2 separate regions of the Homo sapiens genome follow, and region 2 is linked to region 1. Evidence: promoter capture Hi-C in human tissues and cell types (Jung and others, 2019). All regions are on one chromosome and are shown on one strand. The core of a region is centred on a gene start or on the middle of the fragment in contact, and the rest is flanking DNA. Distances in the headings are between cores, read along the strand shown.

Region 1 (5,385 bases), core at 2,066-4,565:
ACTACAGGCATGTGCCACCATGCCAGGGTAAGTTTTTTTTTTTTTTTTTGAGACAGAGTCTCACTCTGTCACCCAGGCTGGAGTGCGGTGGCGCGATTCGGCTCACTGCAAGCTCCACCTCTTGGGTTCACACCATTCTCCTGCCTCAGCCTCCCGAGTAGCTGGGACTATAGGTGCCCGCCACCACGCCCAGCTAATTTTTTGTATTTTTTTTTAGTAGAGACGGGGTTTCACCGTGTTAGCCAGGATGACCTCGATCTCCTGACCTCGTGATCTGCCCGCCTCGGCCTCCCAAAGTGTTGGGATTACAGGCGTGAGCCACTGCGCCTGGCCTTTTTTTTTTTTTTTTGTAGAGATAGGGTCTCCCTATTTTGCCCAGGCTGGTCTCTACCTCCTGGGCTCAAGCTATCCTCCCACCTCAGCCTCCCAAAATGCTGGGATTACAGGTGTGAGCCTGGCCTTGTCAGCATTTTAAAGCTTCAAAATAGCAAACTACTAAGAGAGGCAGTGTATGCCATCTCTAAAGATTTTTTTGGAAACATATGAGATATCCTGCATTTGGCACTTTAGGTGTTGACCTGCCTTAAGGTAGGAAGGTAGGAAGGATGGCCAGATAAATATGAAGGACCACTTCGGAACTCCATGATGCCCTTTTGACACAGAGCATTCGTGAGCCCAAGAAGTGGCCTGTAGGAGACAAAAGCCTGACTCACCTGCCGGTCCCGAACCTGCTCGTGAATTCTCTCAGAGACTGCAGCTGTCTTGGCAAACATAAGCACCCCTGAGGTAAGGCGGTCAAGCCGATGCAAGGGGTGTAGCTCCTTGAGTTGGTGCTCCTTGCCTAGGATGAAGATAACTGTGTTGTGTCGGAAGCGGCCACAGGGGTGAACGGGAATGGAGGAAGGCTTGTCTACAACCACCACATCTTCGTTCTCAGCTAGCAGGCGAATGGGCTCTGCTGTGACTGGTGGCTCATGCCTGTGCACTGTGTTCCGCAAGAAATCATTGTCCTGTCAAAGACATAGGTAATAAGTCAGCCTAGGGACCGCAGCCTGTAATCAGTCAACTTCATATCCAGCTTCCCCTGTTCCTCACTGACATGGAAAAATGGTGAAAGCACATCTTGGGCTGAAAAAGCAGTGTGCAGAGTGTGATCTCATTTTGTAAAAATACAGACAGACACAGGCAGATAGCTGGCACTGAAAAAGTACTGGAAGGACATATGCAAAAATGTTAACTGTGTTATCTCTGGGTGGTTAGATTATGAATGTTTTTTGGCTTTGCTAATTGTATTTTCTCTACAATAAAGGTATTTAAAAGGTAAAATTTTTTAGCCGGGCGCAGTGGCTCACGCCTCTAATCCCAGCACTTTGGGAGGCTGAGGTGGGTGGATCACGAGATCAAGACCATCCTGGCTAACATGGTCAAACTCTGTCTCTACTAAAAATACAAAAATTAGCAGGCGTGGTGGCACATGCCTGTAATCCCAGCTACTTGGGAGACTGAGGCAGGAGAATCGCTTGAACCTGGGAGGCGGAGGTTGCAGTGAGCCGAGATCGCGCCACTACACGCCAGCCTGGGCAACAGAGCAAGACTCTGTCTCAAAAAAAAAAAAAATAAATAATCAAGGTAAAATTTTTTTAATGGAGGAAAAAACCTCCATAAATCATCACTTATTACGATCTTGAACAAACAAAACTAAGGCTTAAGTCCAGGGATATGGGCTCTAGACCAGGATTTGCCACAGGCTCGCTACATGCTCTTGGGCAAGTCATTTATCTTTTCTGGGTCTCTGCTTCCTGTGGAATGTGAGGGTTAGACCAGATCTGTGCTTTAGAAATTGGGATAGGAGAGGGAATTCGTCAATGTATGATATATTGACGCAAATCGATTGATCAATGGAACAAGTTACTCCAAAACCATCCATTCCCCAAATGCTGTAATCGCCTTTTCTCCACTCACAACCATGGTAAACTAGTGTTACTGAGAGGTAAACAGTGTTACTTCTGACAGGGGTGTCTGGTACCTCATAGATGTGATGGAATTTTAAAGGAGTCAAAGCACTGGGCTAAACAATTCTAGTCTCTATCCCTGACATCTCATAACTCTATGTTAAATAGTTTAAGTAGTAGTTATAGGAACATAGGCTTTGGTAGTGGCACTGTTGATAGCCTTACCCCTGTGAGTTTCCTTAGTTTCCTCAGAGGTAAAATGGAGTGGCAATACCTACTTCACAAGGCTGTCATTAGAATTAGTGGACATACAATGTTTAACTTTGTGCCCAGCACACAGTAAAGAGACATAAATGATAGCCCCTATTATTACTATTTGCACAGAGATCTACAACGCAGGGTAAAGTGATCAGTGCCCTTGCCACAAGACGGTGTTTAAAGGAATTATGAAAATTCCAACTTCTGTCCCTTGGAAACAAGGAAGCTGCCTTGAGGAAGAGGATAAACAGGCTGAGTCCTGAAGCACAGACACCCTGGCCACTTGCGGAGGTGGGAAACGGGCTAAAATAGTGTTCCAAATGAAAGCGAGAACGCTTTAGAATTGCCATGATTTTAATCCAGTACCTATGCTTTACTAAGACTAAAAAACAAAACAAAACAAAACAAAACCCGGCCCCTTTTCCTCGCCCGCTTCTGGCCAGCCCCATCAGGACTCCACCTTGAGCACGATGTTGAGGTCCTGCACCGGCTTCTCGTTGAGTTGCAGGCGGCCCGCCCGGACCGCGGCCTCATAGTAGGCCAGGGGCTGAGCTCGGAACTCGGTACTGAAGACGTGCAGCAAGCTGTGGCCCACCCAGCGACCTTTGCAGTAGGTCCGGAAGTCAAAGTAATAGGGCCGCACCTTACGCAGGCCGCCCTCGAAGTAATAACTGGTTTCTGCAAAGTGCTCATCTCCGAAGCTCACCCCGGTCCGCCGCTTCTTCGGGGGCGGCACGACACGCTCCCTGGTTGCGCCCCGCCGCTTCTTATGCTTGCCCGGGCCTGGGGCTGCAGCCGAGGGATGCTCCCCGCCTACTGGGGCCGGCTCCACTTCCCGGCCAGCCGGCTTCGGGGGCCCGGGGGACAGCTCAACCTTCGCGTCGCCACCAGCGTCACCGTTTTGCTGATGCGAAGCCCTCAGCCCGCCCTCTGTCCCAACCTGGGTAGACACTGTTTCTGCCATTGGGCCCTTATCGCCACTCCAAGTCCTGGTAAAGCTAGGGCGCCTAAGGTCGTAGCGCCAATGTCCAAGAACCCTGAGCCATCCGCGGCGGTCCAGCCACATAACCACGCTGCCCCCACTCCACTCCCAGGGTCGCGATCTGAGGACGTCACTCGGCCCCAGCGAATCAGGGAGGCCCAGTCCCGAGGCGGGGTCTGCGATAAGTGAGCGAATGAGTGAGCTGCTCGAATTAAATTAGGTGAATTGAGTGAGCTTAGAGATGAGAGACTGTAAATGTCTCACCAAAAGTGACCTTACTCAGACGTCTTCCTATTAGGGAGATACGACGTTATTTATAAAGGAAACCCTTGGAATTGCTCCGTGTAAAGGCCATGACAGGAGTAGGTCGTGTAAATTCCGAGTAGTCCCTTGGGTCTGAAGAAACGCTTGAAAGGAGCTTTATTTAAGACAAAACAAAAACTAACAACCAGAATAAAGATTGCTAAACTCTGCGAATATACTAAAACCCACTGTATTCTATATTTTAAAAGGGTCAATATTATAGTATGTGACTTGTATCTCAGTAAGATTGTTATATATGTATTTAAAACACACACAAGCACCCCAGAAGCAATGTGTTCACACCTGTGTTTCCCCCTAACAGCATGAGAAGGATTAGTGATCCCCATTCGCCTCCCACATGCTTCCATCCTGAGATTAAAACTGCAAATAGATCAGAGGATATATGGCGAGGGTTCTTAAGTGCAAAATAAACCAACTCTGGCTAATTTCATCAGAGATAGAATTATGGAAAGTATATTAGTGCCTCATAGAATTCACAAGACAACTGGAGACTAGGCTCAGAAAAAGGGCCAAATCAAGGGAAACCAAGCCTTTTGAGAGCCTGGCTTCAGACATGTCAGGGAAGAAACCCAGTTGGGATGCAGTAGACACAAGAAACTATGTTGTGCCAAAGGACTCTTTTTCCTGCAGCCCTGCCACCCCTTGGAGACCCCTAAATCTCCCTGTGTCTCTGTGTCCCTCTTCCAAGGTTAAGAGTCCTGCAGGGGAGGACTTCCATCAGCCAAACCTCATTGCTCTGAGCCCTCACTTCCAGGGTGCCTGGAGATGGAAGAATTTAACCCTCTTTTTTTTTTTTTTTTTTTTTTTTTTTGAGACGGAGTCTTGCTCTGTCGCCCAGGCTGGAGTGCAGTGGAGCGATTTCACCTCACTGCAACCTCCGCCTCCTGAGTTCAAGCCATTCTTCTGCCTCAGCCTCCTGAGTGGCTGGGACTACAGGCACGCACCACCACGCCTGGCTAATTTTTATATTATGAGTGCTGGGATTACAGGCGTAAGCCACCGCGCCCGGCCAAGAATCTAACCCTCTTTGGTATCCAGAGTGGGATTCTTCCAAATAAGGAGGCATTTCAATGTTAGTTTGCCAAAAAAAAAAAAAAAAAAAAGACAGTCTAATTCTTATCCTAGGCATTTGTATTCTGGAGAGGAGAAAGGGAAATCTTTTTTAGCTAAATTCCTTCTTCAAGTCATTAGTCTCACCAAACTAACTGAGGGACTGCAGCTGAGGTATCCACAGCTGCAGAACTCCATATGCTGAAAAGTCTGATTCCTGACTACCTCCAGAAATAAGAGGTAGAATTCTCCATTGATTGTGGGGTATGTTAGAACCAAACTACTTCACAGGAGGGACATCATCTCTCAAGTGCATCATTTCATTAAGATATTTACAGTGAAAGCAGAACCTTATCCAAAAGAAAAGTATGTATTCTTAGCTAGCCTCTTTGCTCCATAGGATTGGGGTGGGAGAATTAAATTAGTTAATTCAAGTAAAATACTTGGACTAGTGCCTGGCAAAACTGTGGAGACAGAAAACATAGCAGAATCTTGTTCCTCCTCCCCTTCTGACCTACTAAATGAGAATCTGCACTTTAACATGATCCTCAGGTGATTTTTCTGCATATTAAAGCTTGAGAAGCACTGGCATAGACCATGTAGAGTAGACATTTGTCATATTCTGTAAACATCCAGCATCTTCCGAACACCCTTCTTTTGGGTGGGGAATTTCTCACATTTCATTACTGCCCCCAAAAGGTAGAAGCCAGAGCCTTCCCACACTCTCTTGCAGCTTGGACATAGGCATTTGACCTGGGCTCTATCTCTTAGACAGAGGCTTTGGTTCAGAGGCACACAGCCGCGGAAGCAGGCTCAGTG
Region 2 (5,385 bases), core at 1,549-4,048, 530 kb before region 1:
TCCCAGCTACCTGGGAGGCTGAGGCAGGAAAATTGCTTGAGCCAGGGAGGCGGAGGTTGCAGTGAGCTGAGATCGCGCCACTGGACTCCACCCTGGGTGACAAAGCGAGACTCTGTCTCAAAAAAATATAAAACAAGAACGATGATTTGGGAATACTGATCTGGAAGTATCTGCATAGATGAATTAGAGTGAGAAGAACCTGGAGGTGGGAAAGTCAATTAGGAAGCAGTAGTCTAGGTGTGAGGCTAAGAAGCTAAATGAAAACACTGATAATAGGAAGAAACTGACATATTCCAGACATTATTCCCAAAGAAGAATTAACTACACATTGGGACTCACTGCATGCCAGGAGAGAAGTAGAAGGGGGTGTAAAAAATGATTCATAGATTTTGAGTCTGAATAATTGTTATATAAATAGGAAAGACAGATGAACTAGCTGCTGTGGAGGCATATGAGAAGTTTGGGTTTGTAGGGGCTAGAAAACATCTAGAAAGCCTTTCTAGAAGCATCTAGAAATGTGGATTGTATGCTGTGCAAGTTGAGAGCCAGAGGGTCAGTCATACAGCAGTGTTAATTGAATTCCTGGTAGAAGATGAGATTTTCTAAGGCGTAGGAATAGATGACAGAACTTTGGTGTACTCCGCATTTAGAATAAAGTTTCAGTCAAGGAGTTAAGGAATAGTCCAAGTTTTCAAAGATTATTAAATAGAGTATCCAAAAGCAAGAGTCACTCAACAATATCAACTTCATTCATTCTGATAAACAGTGGTTATCAGAGAGCATGGTTCTCAACTGTATCAGACCCAACTCTCCTTTTTTATTACAAATATTTTATAATACACCCTTTTTTTTTCCTTTGAGACAGTCTTGCTCTGTTGCCCAGGGTGTAGTGCAGTGTGCACGATACTGGCTCACTGTAACCTCCGCCTCCCAGGTTCAAGCGATTCTCCTGCCTCAGGCTCCCAAGTTGCTGGGACTACAGGCAAACCCGCCACCACACCTGGCTAATTTTTGTATTTTTTAGTAGAGATGGGGTTTCACCATATTGGTCAGGCTGGTCTCGAACTCCTGATCTCAGGTGATTGCCCGCCTCGGCCTCCCAAAGTGCTAGGATTACAGGCATGAGCCACTGCGCCTGGCCTAATATGCCCTTTTTAAAATCCTGAAATGAAATCTATAGGTAATATATAATTTTAAAAAGCAGTATGATGCCCTAATTGTAATATATTGGGGAAACATAAATAAAGTAACTTACACAGTATGTACTTTAAAATGCAAATGCATGGGCATGAACCCATAATAAGTGACATAAGACATAGTCGTATCTTCTTTTTTTGAGATGGAGTCTTGCTTTGTTGCCCAGGCTGGAGTTCAGTGGCACAGTCTTGGCTCACTGCAACCTCCACCTCCCAGGTTCAAGCGATTCTCCTGCCTCAGCCTCCTGAGTAGCTGGGACTACAGGTGCGTGCCACCAAGCCCAGCTACTTTTTTGTATTTTTAGTAAAGGCGGGATTTCACTGTGTTAGCCAGGTTGGTCTCGAATTCCTGACCTTGTAATCTGCTCGTCTCAGCCTCCCAAAGTGCTGGGATTACAGGCATGAGCCACCATGCCCGCCAAGAAATAGTCATATCTTTTGTACTAGTATGGAGAATCACCTTGACTAAGAGTTACAAATAGGCCGGGTGCGGTGGCTCACGCCTGTAATCCCAGCACTTTGGGAGGCCGAGGTGGGTGGATCACGAGGTCAGGAGATCGAGATCATCCTGGCTAACACAGTGAAACCCCGTCTCTACTAAAATACAAAAAAACTTAGCCAGGCGTTGTGGCGGGCGCCTGCAGTCCCAGCTACTCGGGAGGCTGAGGCAGGAGAATGGCTTGAACCTGGGAGGCGGAGCTTGCAGTGAGCAGAGATCTCGCCACTGCACTCCAGCCTGGGTGACAGAGCAAGACTCTGTCTCAAAAAAAAAAAAAAAAGTTACAAATAAAGTCTGTTTGTGTTGGTGACTCAAATATCACAGCAAGTAAGAGGAAACTATTGAGCTAAGGTGAAATAAAAGAGGATGGAATGATTTGCTCTTCAGGCTCTTCCAAGATGAGCGGGGAATGACTTCAGCATTTTGAGGAAGAGGGAAAAAAGATTTGAAGTAATCTTGGTAGAGAATGAGAAACAATTGGTAGAAGGTGGGTAAAAGGGTTATTGAGAATTATCAAGTGTTTTGCTGAAGTTGGACGATAACAGATGGGTCAGGTTGATGGCCATGCAGTTTCCTTGTAGGGAATAAGAGACAAATGAGGAGATGAAAGTGGTTATTGCAGCAGCAGCTTTTAACATGCTAATCAAGACTAGGCTGAATTGAGAGGCCAGCAATCTTAAAAGGTGATTAAGAAATGATTGTCAGCCGGGTGGGTGGCTCATGCCTATAATCCCACTACTTTGGGAGGCTGAGGTGGGTGGATCACTTGATGCCAGGCGTTTGAGACCAGCCTGGCCAACATGGTAAAACTCCATCTCTACTAAAAATACAAAAATTAGCTGTGTGTGGTGGGGTGCGCCTGTAGTCCCAGCTACTTGGGAGGCTGGAGGTGAGAGAATCACTTGAACCCAGGAGGCGGAGATTGTAGTGAGCGGAGATCACCCCATTGTGCTCCAGCCTGGGCGACAGAGGGAGCCTCTGTCTCAAAAAAAAAAAAAAAAGAAAAAATTGTGAATGGTAGTAATGGTTGCACAACAATGTGAATGTATATAATGCCACTGAAGTGTACACTTAAAAATGGTTAAAATGGTAAGTTTTATGTCTTTTGCCACCATAAAGAAAAAAATTGAACACTTAAAAAATATAACTTGGTTCTCCAGATGTCATCATAGGACTTCTTGTGGAGAATTTTGTGCTTACAGCACCTTTTTTTGGTGGTATTGTGGACATAAGGGAATTCATTGCAGCTGTCATTTCAGCCATCAGTGGTGATATGCTGCAAAGATGATTTCTGGGATGAATCAGTTGACAGGACTGATGTATACTGGGTGTCAAAAGGGAGCATATATTGAGGATTGTAAGACTAGAAGTTAACTGTGATCTTTCTTCAACAAATTGTTTTTGATTTCATACTCACATAGGTACTGAGGAATAAGTTTTGAAAATATTCCATTCATTGGCCGGGCACAGTGGCTCACACCTGTAATCCCAGCACTTTGGGAGGCCGAGGCGGGCGAATCACGAGGTCAGGAGATCGAGACCATCCTGGCTAACACAGTGAAACCCCGTCTGTACTAAAAATACAAAAAGTTAGCCTGGCGTGGTGGCAGGCGCCTGTAGTCCCAGCTACTCGGGAGGCTGAGGCAGGAGAATGGCGTGAACCTGGGAGGCAGAGCTTGCAGTGAGCCGAGATTGGGCCACAGCATTCCAGCCTCGGCTACAAGACTTTGTCTCAAAAAAAAAAGAAAAGAAAATATTCCATTCATTTCGAATCACTCCGTATTACTTGGTAGTCATACCTCCTTAATTAGTGTCATTTTCCTTATCAGGTAAAATAACTAGAGCATGGATTAATTGTTCTGTAATAAAAGCTTGGGATGGAGCCAAGCAGAGTAGTTTTACATTTATACATGTATCAAGATGAATTATTTGCTGTTCTCTTAAGGGAGTTTTGTTGTATTTTAAAAACCAATTTCTTTGAAATCTTCTGGAGTGGGTGGGTACACGTTAGGTCTCATTTTGAAAAGGTGAAATTTAAAGTTTTTTTTTTTTTGGATAGTCTCACTCTGTTATGCAGGCTGGAGTACAGTGGTGCGTTCATGACTTACTGAGGTCTCAACCTCCTGGGCTCAAACCATCCTCCCTCCTCAGCCTCCCAAGTGGCTGGGTTTACAGGTGCATGCCACTACACTCAGCTAATTTTTAAATTTTTTTGTAGAGACAAGGTCTCGCCATGTTACTCAGGCTGGTCTTGAACTCTTGGGCTCAAGCTCTCCTCCTGCCTCACCTCCCAAAGTGCTGGGATTACAAGCTTCAGCCACTGCTCCTGGCCAAAAGTATTTTTTAGCATTCTTTTTTCTTTATATTACCAAGACTGACAATTTACAAACTATGAAATTCACATAATTTAAATAAAATATACAGTTCAGTATATTTTGAATATATTTTTGGTAGATTTACAGAATTGTGGAACTATCGCCACAATGGGAGTTTGGAACATTTTTTTTTTCCCTTTTTCTTTCCCTCTCTCTCACTCTCTTGTTGTGTGTGTGTGTGTGTGTTTGTTTTTTTTTTTTTTTTTTTTTTTTTTTTTTGAGACAGGGTCTTACTCCAGGCTGGAGCACAGTGGCACAATGATAGCTCACTGCAGCCTTGACTTCCTGGGCTTAAGCAATCCTCTCACCTCAGCCTCTTGAGTAGCTGGCACTACAGGCACGCATCACCATACTTGGCTAATTTTTAAATTTTTTGTAGGGACACGGTCCTGCTATGTTGCCCAGGCTGGTCTCAAACTCCTGGGCTCAAGGGATCCACCCACTTCAGCCTCCTAAATGTTGAGATTATAGGTGAGAGCCACTGTGTCTAGCCTGTCTTTTTTATTATTCTAGTGGGTATGAAGTAGTATGGTGCTTTAATTTTAATTTATTAATATTTAGCATTTTTTCATGTGTCTATTAGCTAGTCATACATCTTTGTTGGTAAAATGTTCAAAATCTTTTGCTCATTTTTAAATTGGGTTATTTATCTTATAGAGTTGTAGGTTTTATGTGTACACACTGACAAACAACTGTGTAAAAAAAAAGTTGTATATGTGGATACAAGACCTTTATCAGATAGATGATTTGCAAGTATCTTCTAGTCTGTGGCTTGTCTTCATTTTCTTTTTCTTTTTTTTGTCACCCAGGCTGGAGTACAGTTGCAAGATCATGGCTCACTGTAGCCTCAACCTCCTGGGCTGTAAGTGATCCTCCCACTTCAGCCTCCCGAATAGTTTGTCCAGAGGCCTGTGCCACCATGCCCAGCTAATTTTAAATTCTTTTGAAGAGATGAGATCTCACTGTGTTGCCCAGGTTGATCTTGTTTTCCTGGGCTGAAGTGATCCTCCCACTTCAGTCTCCCAGAGTGCTGGGATTACAGGCATGAGCCACTGTGCCTAGTTTGTCTTCATTTTCTTAATGATATATTTTAAAGTGTAAACATTTTTAATTCGCATGGGCTAATTTTTGATCTTTTGTGCTTTTGATTGCATATCTAGAATTTTTTATGGTCAGTCATGAAGATTTTCTCCTGGTTTTTCTAGAAGTTACACTGTTTTAGATAGGAAAGTTATATTAGAAAATTGTAAAAAAAAGAGAAGACAACTCAAAGATGTATGATTGCCTTTAAAGCTTATCACTTAGTTGGCCGGGC

The links. The method cuts DNA at HindIII sites, captures the fragments that hold promoters and counts their contacts. A contact is called where the count stands out against the background at its distance.
Region 2: a fragment that was not itself captured here is called in contact with the fragment with the promoter of RPUSD2 in region 1 in 1 of the 25 tissues and cell types used here (adrenal gland).

What each region holds. Positions count from the first base shown.
Region 1 is chr15:40,567,229-40,572,613 of GRCh38, reverse strand. It overlaps RPUSD2 (RNA pseudouridine synthase domain containing 2), which reads right to left and starts at 3,315. Exons shown (of 3, transcript NM_152260.3): 1 at 2,671-3,315; 2 at 714-1,010. The coding sequence starts at 3,276. RefSeq lists enhancers at 2,684-2,733, 2,483-2,982, 3,044-3,373 and a silencer at 5,218-5,385. The HindIII fragment of the contact is 11,995 bases long and covers 1-5,385 here.
Region 2 is chr15:41,098,142-41,103,526 of GRCh38, reverse strand. All of the region lies in intron 1 of INO80 (INO80 complex ATPase subunit), which reads left to right. Among named protein-coding and RNA genes, the nearest start is that of INO80, 15 kb to the left of the region's middle. The HindIII fragment of the contact is 3,775 bases long and covers 911-4,685 here.